3 separate regions of the Homo sapiens genome follow, and regions 1 and 3 are each linked to region 2. Evidence: promoter capture Hi-C in 16 types of primary human blood cells and fetal thymus (Javierre and others, 2016). All regions are on one chromosome and are shown on one strand. Each heading gives the region's core, a stretch centred on a gene start or on the middle of the fragment in contact. The rest is flanking DNA. Distances are from core to core; before and after follow the strand shown. Region 1 overlaps ARSK (arylsulfatase family member K). Region 2 holds the start of GIN1 (gypsy retrotransposon integrase 1). Region 3 overlaps RIOK2 (RIO kinase 2).

The links. Contacts are between HindIII fragments. The CHiCAGO score rates a contact against its expected background, and 5 or more counts as called.
Region 1: a fragment that was not itself captured here is called in contact with the fragment with the promoter of GIN1 in region 2 in 1 of 17 cell types (total CD4 T cells); the score reaches 5.2 in total CD4 T cells.
Region 3: a fragment that was not itself captured here is called in contact with the fragment with the promoter of GIN1 in region 2 in 1 of 17 cell types (total CD4 T cells); the score reaches 7.6 in total CD4 T cells.

What each region holds. Positions count from the first base shown.
Region 1 is chr5:95,560,502-95,563,201 of GRCh38, forward strand. The region is part of intron 1 of ARSK (arylsulfatase family member K); the gene reads left to right. Among named protein-coding and RNA genes, the nearest start is that of ARSK, 6.8 kb to the left of the region's middle. The HindIII fragment of the contact is 2,864 bases long and covers 1-2,700 here.
Region 2 is chr5:103,118,865-103,121,564 of GRCh38, forward strand. It overlaps GIN1 (gypsy retrotransposon integrase 1), which reads right to left and starts at 1,274. Exons shown (of 8, transcript NM_017676.2): 1 at 1,200-1,274. PPIP5K2 (diphosphoinositol pentakisphosphate kinase 2) reads left to right here and starts at 1,437. Exons shown (of 31, transcript NM_001276277.3): 1 at 1,437-1,624. RefSeq lists enhancers at 410-911, 912-1,412, 1,248-1,507, 1,538-1,727, 1,778-1,837. The HindIII fragment of the contact is 9,897 bases long and covers 1,232-2,700 here.
Region 3 is chr5:97,172,921-97,175,620 of GRCh38, forward strand. RIOK2 (RIO kinase 2) reads right to left here. Exons shown (of 10, transcript NM_018343.3): 5 at 255-343. Among named protein-coding and RNA genes, the nearest start is that of RIOK2, 9.0 kb to the right of the region's middle. The HindIII fragment of the contact is 807 bases long and covers 948-1,754 here.

The DNA.
Region 1 (2,700 bases), core at 119-2,618, 7.6 Mb before region 2:
GATCAATGGAATAGGATCTAAAGTCCAGAAATAAACTCTCATATTTATAGTAAATTGATTTTTTAACAAGGGTGCCAAGACCATTTAATAGGGAAAGAATGATCTTTTAAACAAATGGTGCTGGAAAAAAAAAATATGAATGAAGTTGGACCCTGCCTTGCACCATACACAAACACACAAAAAAAAACTTTAAGTAAATTGATTGATTAATCAAATGTAAAACTAAAAAACTCTTACAAGAAAACATAGGTGTAAGTCTTTGTGATTGTGGATTAGGCAATTAAAAGATGGGCAAAAGATCTTTTTTTTTTTTTTTTTTTTGAAATGGAGTCTCGCTCTGTCACCCAGGCCGGAGTGCAGTGGCGCAATCTCGGCTTACTGCAACTTCTGCCTCCCAGGTTCAAGCCATTCTCCTGCCTCAGTCTCCTGAGTAGCTGGGACTACAGGTGCCCGCCACCACACCCAGATAATTTTTTAATTTTTATTTTTAGTAGAGATGGGGTTTCACCGTATTAGCCAGGATGGTCTCGATCTCCTGACCTTGGGATATACCCGCCTAGGCCTCCCAAAGTGCTGGGATTACCGGCATGAACCACCATGCCCGGCCAAAAGATCTTAATAGACATTTCTTCATAGAAGATACGCAGATGACAAATAAATACATGAAAAGATGCTCAACATCATTAATCATTCGGGAAATGTAAATCAAAACCACAGTGAGACACCAGTTATACCCACTGGGATGGTTATAATGAAAAAGACAATAACTAGAGATGGCAACAATGTGGAGGAATTGCAACCCATACCCTGCTGGTAGGATCACGCAGCCATTGGAAATCAGTTTGGCAGTTTCTCGAATGGTTAACCATAGAGTTGCTGTATAATCCAGCAGTTTTACTCCTAGGTGTATATTCAAGGGAAATGAAAATATAAGTCTACACAAAAACTTCTACATGAATGTTCATAGCATTATAATGTTCATTATACATAATGGCCAAACAGTATAAACAACCCAAATGCCCATCAATTGATAAATGGATAAATAAAATTTGGTAATATTATTCAACAATAAAAAATATGGTATATGCTACAATATAGATGAAACTTAAAAAGATTATGCTAAATGAAAGAAGCTAGTCAAAAAGGACCACATATTGTATGATTCCATTCATATGAAATGTCCAGAAAAAGCAAACATAGAGCCGGAAAGTAGGTTAGTGGTTGCCTAGGCTTCAGGAAAATAGAGAGTAATGGCTAAAGAGTGCAGAATGTCTTTTGGGGATGATGAGAACATTCTAAAATCGACTATGGTAATGGTTGCACAGCTTTCTGAATACACTAAAAACCATTGAATTGTACACTTTAAATGGATGAGTTGTTTAGTGTGTTAATTATATCTTAATAAACCCATTTTTAAAAGAACAGAAAACAGGCTAGGCACGGTGGTTCACACCTGTAATACCAGCACTTTGGGAAGCCACGGCGAGCAGATCACCTGAGGTCAGAAGTTCGAGACCAGCCTGGCCAACATGGTGAAACCCCATCTCTACTAAGAATACAAAAATTAGCCAGGCATGGTGGTGGGCACCTGCCCAGCTACTCGGGAGGCTGAGTCAGGAGAATCGCTTAAACCTAGAATACAGAGGTTGCAGTGAACCGAGATTGTGCCACTGGACTCCAGCCTTGGTGACAGGGTGAGTCTCTGTCTCAAAAAAAATAAATAAAAATTTAAAATTAAATAAATAATAGAAAAGAAGCATCTCTGCCTGGGTCTTAAAGGACAGAGGCATCTTCTGCATCCCCACTCCTACTCCTACCTCTACTCCCTGCCACTGCACCTGTATCAGTTTTAGTTTTGCTGAGGTTTCAGGAGTGGCAGGGGAGAGTAGGTACAGGAGTGTTTACTAGAGAGTCTAGTGAGAATCTCATTCAGTCTGATGGACAGATCTGGGAAGAACACTATAAGCAGTCTTGCCATGCTGACATGGCAAATTAAAGTTGCTGTTACATTCTTTTATTAGGATGATTAATTCAAACCTAAACTTCTCTGATTCTGCATGGCCCATAATGATAAGGAACCGAGTACAAGCCATGGTTCAGAAGGAGCAATCAAAATCACAAAATTGTATCTACAAAAAGACTTACCCACCCCAAGGGGGAAAAATGTGTGGACCCATGAGAATTAATTAACAAGAGCAGAATGCAGCAACTAAAGGCAGTTGGTACCATTTCTGTAACTTTTGCAGAAAGCCAATTAATGGGTCATTTTTATTTCTTAAATGCCCAATTTTAGAGTGCTTAATTTGTTTGAACCATAGGAATGGCCTTGAGAAAATTGAAATGGGCTATTAGTAAGTTATAGAAGTTATAACAAAAGCCATTTTTCAAGATTTTCTCTGCCAACTAAATTTGACAGAACTGTGTTTTCACTTATAACTGGCTATCCATTGTAAACCACATTAACATACTATGGAAAACTTACTTTCTCTCTTTTTCATCAGCCAGCTGTGTTAAGATGCCTTTCAGTTCAGAATGAAATATTCTACTGACCGTCTCCCATTGATACCATTATCAGCAGTACTAGTAGTAGCCTAGTTTTTAAATGATTTGTTAGTGTGTAAAAACTACATGAAGTCAAAAACCAAAACTTCTAGAAAATTTTTAAATATTTTCTCTAATAACATTTTGGTCTTCGTTTAG
Region 2 (2,700 bases), core at 24-2,523:
GGGGATTAAGTGGTTTCTACTACATAAAGAAAGACTGTCCTGGGACTTCTTTGGATATGCTCATATTTTCAAGAATTTCTCTTAAAATCATTACTTAATGTACTTAAACATGTAGGAATAAGAAAAAATGAAAGTGATTGATTACAACTTGTAGTTTTGCAAGAGGAATGTCAGGGTCACATTTGGTTAAGCTTTATACACTTTGTCCCCTCCATAAAAGCAAATAAAATCAACTCATTGCTTAATTCCTTTAATAATTTTGTGTTCAATAAAGTAAGGCAGTTAGGTATTATGTCAAGATTAGGACTTAACTGTTTCACCAAGGGTTAAAAACAAAGCCACCAATTTAAGCCCCTAAAAGGTTATAATACCCGCTGGTTCCATCTTAAAATCTGCAATTTTCAATCAACATGTTAACTTGGATCGGAATTCTGACATTTGAATTATTCTATTTTAAGCTCCAAAAAATGGACACGCACAATTTTATGCAACGTCAAGGACCTGTAAATTTAAATACACTTCTCTGTAATCTGGTTCACTTCAGAGTACAAATTCATTGAACAAAAAAATGCCTTCATCGCCATATGCATTCACATGAAGCCACATGGGATAAATGCATTTCCACTTTAAAAAGTATCTACTTTGGTTCAGAAATGCCCATTTAAGAAAAACCTACACTGAGATAAAGTGGACATTTTTCTTTTAAAACTACGTGACAGGATTCCCTCTTGACCTCACGTTTCTCCCCGCCACGTATTTAAATTTGGGGCAAAATTTCTGATTAAATGACTGATCAAAGTAATGGGGAGAATTCTTCAACGCCGGCCAAAAGTGCTTAGTCTCAAACGCTGTGAGGGAGCATTTCCTAAGCTTTGGGCGACTCGTTAACGGAATCTTAAGGGCAAGGTCCAACCACACTCAGAATCAGCAGGAAAATGACCGTTTGGTAAAACTCAATTACACCCAGTAGGCACCTCCCCAGGCCCGAAACAGCACTCGCCCTTTCTGCTCAGCTAGCGCGGGACATCGCAACGCCCAAGGCCCTCCTATCTCAAAGGCGCTTGCGCAAAATCTCCCCACAGACTCAATTAAACCCTTCCTTAGGCCGGTCGAGGCGAATGGTTTTGAAATTACTGTCGGGTTACGCCTCACTTTAAAAAACAGTAGGTATGACACAGCACACCAGAACGACCACTCACCGAGGTGGTCCTAAATTCAAACGACAGATTTAAGCTTCCTCTCGTGATTTATCTCGCGCTGCCGGAAGCGGAACTACCCGGGTCCTTTAGAGGGCAGTCCTTTGGGGAACCTTGGAACCACGGTCAGAAAGGTTAGGACTGATCATTTGGCTCTTGCCGGAAATCGTTCCGCCCGGTGAGGTTTCGGCGTGAGACCCGAGGAGGGCGGGGAAGAGGCGTGACGGAGATTCCTGAGGTGTAGTAGCCTGAGGTTCCCTTATGTGGCCCTATAGCTGTTACTGAAGGAAGTAGCCTACGTCCACGCCTACAACTGAAGTCTCTTGACAAACACCTCACCCCTGCCTCCGGGATGAAAGGGGGTAACCTAGACCTGAATGGGCTTGACCATCTCACAACTGCTCGCGTGACGACCGCATTCGTGGCAGGTGAGGGCCCAAAACCGGAGGAGAACCGGAGATGCGGAACCTGATCATGCCAGGGTTGAGGCGGCTGCTGGGCTTCTGCTTTGTCTCCTGTGCTCTGCAGACCCTAAACACATGCTCCACCGAGGGGCTTGTGCTGGAGAGAATGACAGCCTGGGCGTGGAGTGACAGTACAGCTTTGAGGGTCCTTTCGCGCCTTGATTTCTCCTCCTGCTCCCCCATGGCTTCCCTTTTTCATTTCTTGGGTTCGAGACGCCAGAAATTGAAGATCAGCTAAAAGGGAACCGCTGAGCTTCTACCCCACGCTGTGCCTGGCTCCACTGAAGTGATTAGCCTCGAGTTATGGGACTGCTGTGGGTAGAGGTGGCTTTTTAAAAAATTTTCTGCCTTAGTCTTTATCCCTCTCTCTGTCAACCCCACACCCACTTTAAAATAACAAAAGCCTCATGTGTTGCAGCTTTTCATAGTAGGGACCGAGGCTGCAGGGCACTGCCGCACCTAGTCATTTGGAGGTCGTTGCAGCCTTCTGCGCCTTGAAGAAGAAGGGGCCAGGGTGATGATCCCTGGATCTCATTCACGAGGTTCTTGACCACTTCCTGGGAGATTGCGACTCTTGGTGTCCTTTGGCTAGTAGTTGTCTTGCTGGAAGGCTTAACTGTGGAAGTGGGAAGCATAGCTGACCTTAGCACGTAAAATCCTCGCTCTACACTGGGACAGGATTTTGTTTTGCTATTGAGAATTCTTAAATGAAATAGATAATTTTTTTGTCTCAGATAGATAAAATAATAACGATAGTTGCCATTAACTGAGTCTTATGTGTGCCGAGTGCTTTACATAGTTTGTCATTTATTCCTCTCAACAATTCCAGGAGGTATGTTAGATTATTATCACCATTTTACAGAGTTAGAAATGGAGGCTTTGAACAGTCAAGCAACTTGCTCTATTAAACATTTGTTATAAGTAAACGTTTGAATCTGTGTTAAAAACCAGATCTGTCTGCCTTCAAAATCTGTATTCTATTGTCCTGTCCTGTTCTTCCTCGATTTCAATTTCTTCACTAACATTTTCAGTGTCTGAAA
Region 3 (2,700 bases), core at 101-2,600, 5.9 Mb before region 2:
TTCACTGCTGAGATTAAAAGTTCCTGGCACCTAACAGTCTCTTAATATTGAATGAATGAATGAATCACAGAGATTACAAAGTTCATATTGTCAGAATGAAACTGGGTTTTTAATTTGTCTTTGAGTCTATTCCTTTAAATAAATTTTAACCTCCCAGAGGCAATATTTCATTAACTAAAAAAAATTTTATTAAAAACCCTGAAACTTAAATTCATTTATCAGGATTCATGGCTTTAAGAATAATGAATACTTACAGTGGATAACCATTTATGAGTTCCATGACCACTGCATGACGATTGTAATCAATTGGCTTTGGAACTGGAAATTTCCTCTCATACAATGCCTAAAATGTTGCAAAACAGGTGTAAGCTAATGAACAGGTCATTACTCTTTAAAGAACAATAAAAGTAAATATACCTTTCTACAACCAGAAAAAAAACACACAAACCTTTATAAAATTGTAGTTAACACATGGTTATTTATGCATAGCTTATTTATTCACTGCGTAGAATTAGCCACACATAAAAAGCAAATTTTAAACAAAAGTTTGAATTCACTTTTCCACAAAAAATGAACATTTACAAAATGTTATGCACTGTGCTGGGGTTACAAAAATGAATGTTAAAAAGTTTCTAAACACTCTAAAATTAGTGTCAAAAAGCCCCCAAGAAGCTTACAGTCTCTTAGGGTATATCCTTTCCTATTTTGTAAGTCTCTGACATTTGTTGAAATGTGCTCAAAATATTTAAATTGGAAACAAATTTAGGAAATACTCATCTTCGGACATATTAGGAAATGAGGCATTCTAAGAGATCAGACATTTTGGTTTATAGGGCACTGAACTTTTTCTCCAGGCCACAATATGCAATATAAATCTATTATGTGAAAAATATACACTGTTGTAGTCTGATTCAAGTGTTAAGACTCTCCATACATCTTTTCCCCTAAGCTTACTGTCTTCAATCTTACTGTTTACAAAGCCCTGTTATTACTTTCTTTAAAATACCTTAGATTTATGCCCTTTGACATTTAGAATGCTAGTATTAGGAATGGCAAAAACTGCAATTACTTTTGCACCAACATATACTTGTAAGGAGGCATATACCTCATTACTCCACAAGTGTTCTAGCTCTTGCCATCATACCTAACCTATTCTATGTACCAATACCAGACTAACCTGCTGATGTTAATATTCCATTTAAAAATATATACATTGGGATGGGCATGGAGTCTCACGTCTGTAACCCCAGCAATTTGGGAGGCCGAGGCGGGTGGATCAGTTGAGGTCAGGAGTTCGACACCAGCCTGCCAGCATGGTGAAACCCCATCTCTACTAAAAATACAAAAAAATTAGCCAGGCGTGGTGGCACATGCCTGTAGTCCCAGCTACCTGGGAGGCTGAGGCAGGAGAATCGCGTGAACCCGGGAGGCAGAGGTTGCAGTGAGTTGATATCGTGCCACTGCATTCTAGCCTGGGTGATAGAGCAAGACTACACCTCAAAAAAAGTTTTTTTTTACATTGGCTGTAAATTTTCTTTTCAGTTTGTAAATATAAACTTTTCCTGGTTTTCAAAACTCTTTAATCCACCTGTACAGTCCTAGTTCTCCCAATATTCTCTCCAATACACACCAAGAAACGCAGTCAGGACAGTCACCTCAGTGTCACCTAAACACATAGGACTCACATAGATTCATGTCATTGCCCATACCACTTCTCTGCCAAAATGCACTGTCTTAGGGTCAAATAATATCCAAGCTTCATGGCTCCACTCAGCTCCACTCACTACCTGAAACCTCCTCCATCAACTATTCTATCACTTACTGAAGTTTCTCTAAATTCAGTATATAATTAAAAAAAAAATTGTTCTTAGACTTGCAGTGGTGGCTCACGCTTATAACCCCGGTACTTTGGGAGGCCGAGGTGGGTGAATCTCTTGAGGCCAGGGGTTTGAGAGCAGCCTGGGCAACACAGCAAGGTCCTGTCTCTACAAAGCAGGCATGGTAGCACATGCCTGTGATCCTAGATACTTGGGAGGCTGAGGTGGGAGGATGGCTTGAGCCCAGGAGGTAGGGGCTGCAGTGAGCCGTGATCGTGCCACTGCACTCCAGCCTGGGTGACAGAGTGAGACCTTGTCTTGAAAATAAATAAATAAATAAATAAATAAATAAAAGGTTCTGTTTCATGTGTTATCTTCTCAACTTTAAGACACAGATCGTACTGGTTATTTCTTTGGCATCCACTCCTTCACCCTACACTACCCCAGCAATTAATTTCAAAAGGTTGTCTATTGCTTACCTTCTGTGAACAAGAACCAAACCACTTCCCACTTCCCAGATATTTTTCTTTGCTTTGTTTTTAAATACTTTTTTTCAGTGTAGACCATTTTGAGCATACCTAGACAGATCAATAGCACGTGATAAACTTAAAGATTGTGAATATTTGTCTAGAACTTGTGCTATCGCCTAGACCTCATGCTATAGCCCAATCTTTATCTTCTTGTTCCTCTCTTATGAATAATCAATACATTAAGGAGTGCATTTATGTGCAACCAGATTCCATTCCTATACCTTCAATATAAATATCCTGAAAAACACCTACTACCCTTTTGGGAAAATGTGTAAATGATCCCTACCAAGCTGCTCATTTACTGACTGAATATTACAAGATACAAACTATTAGTATAAGAAGTACATTGACAT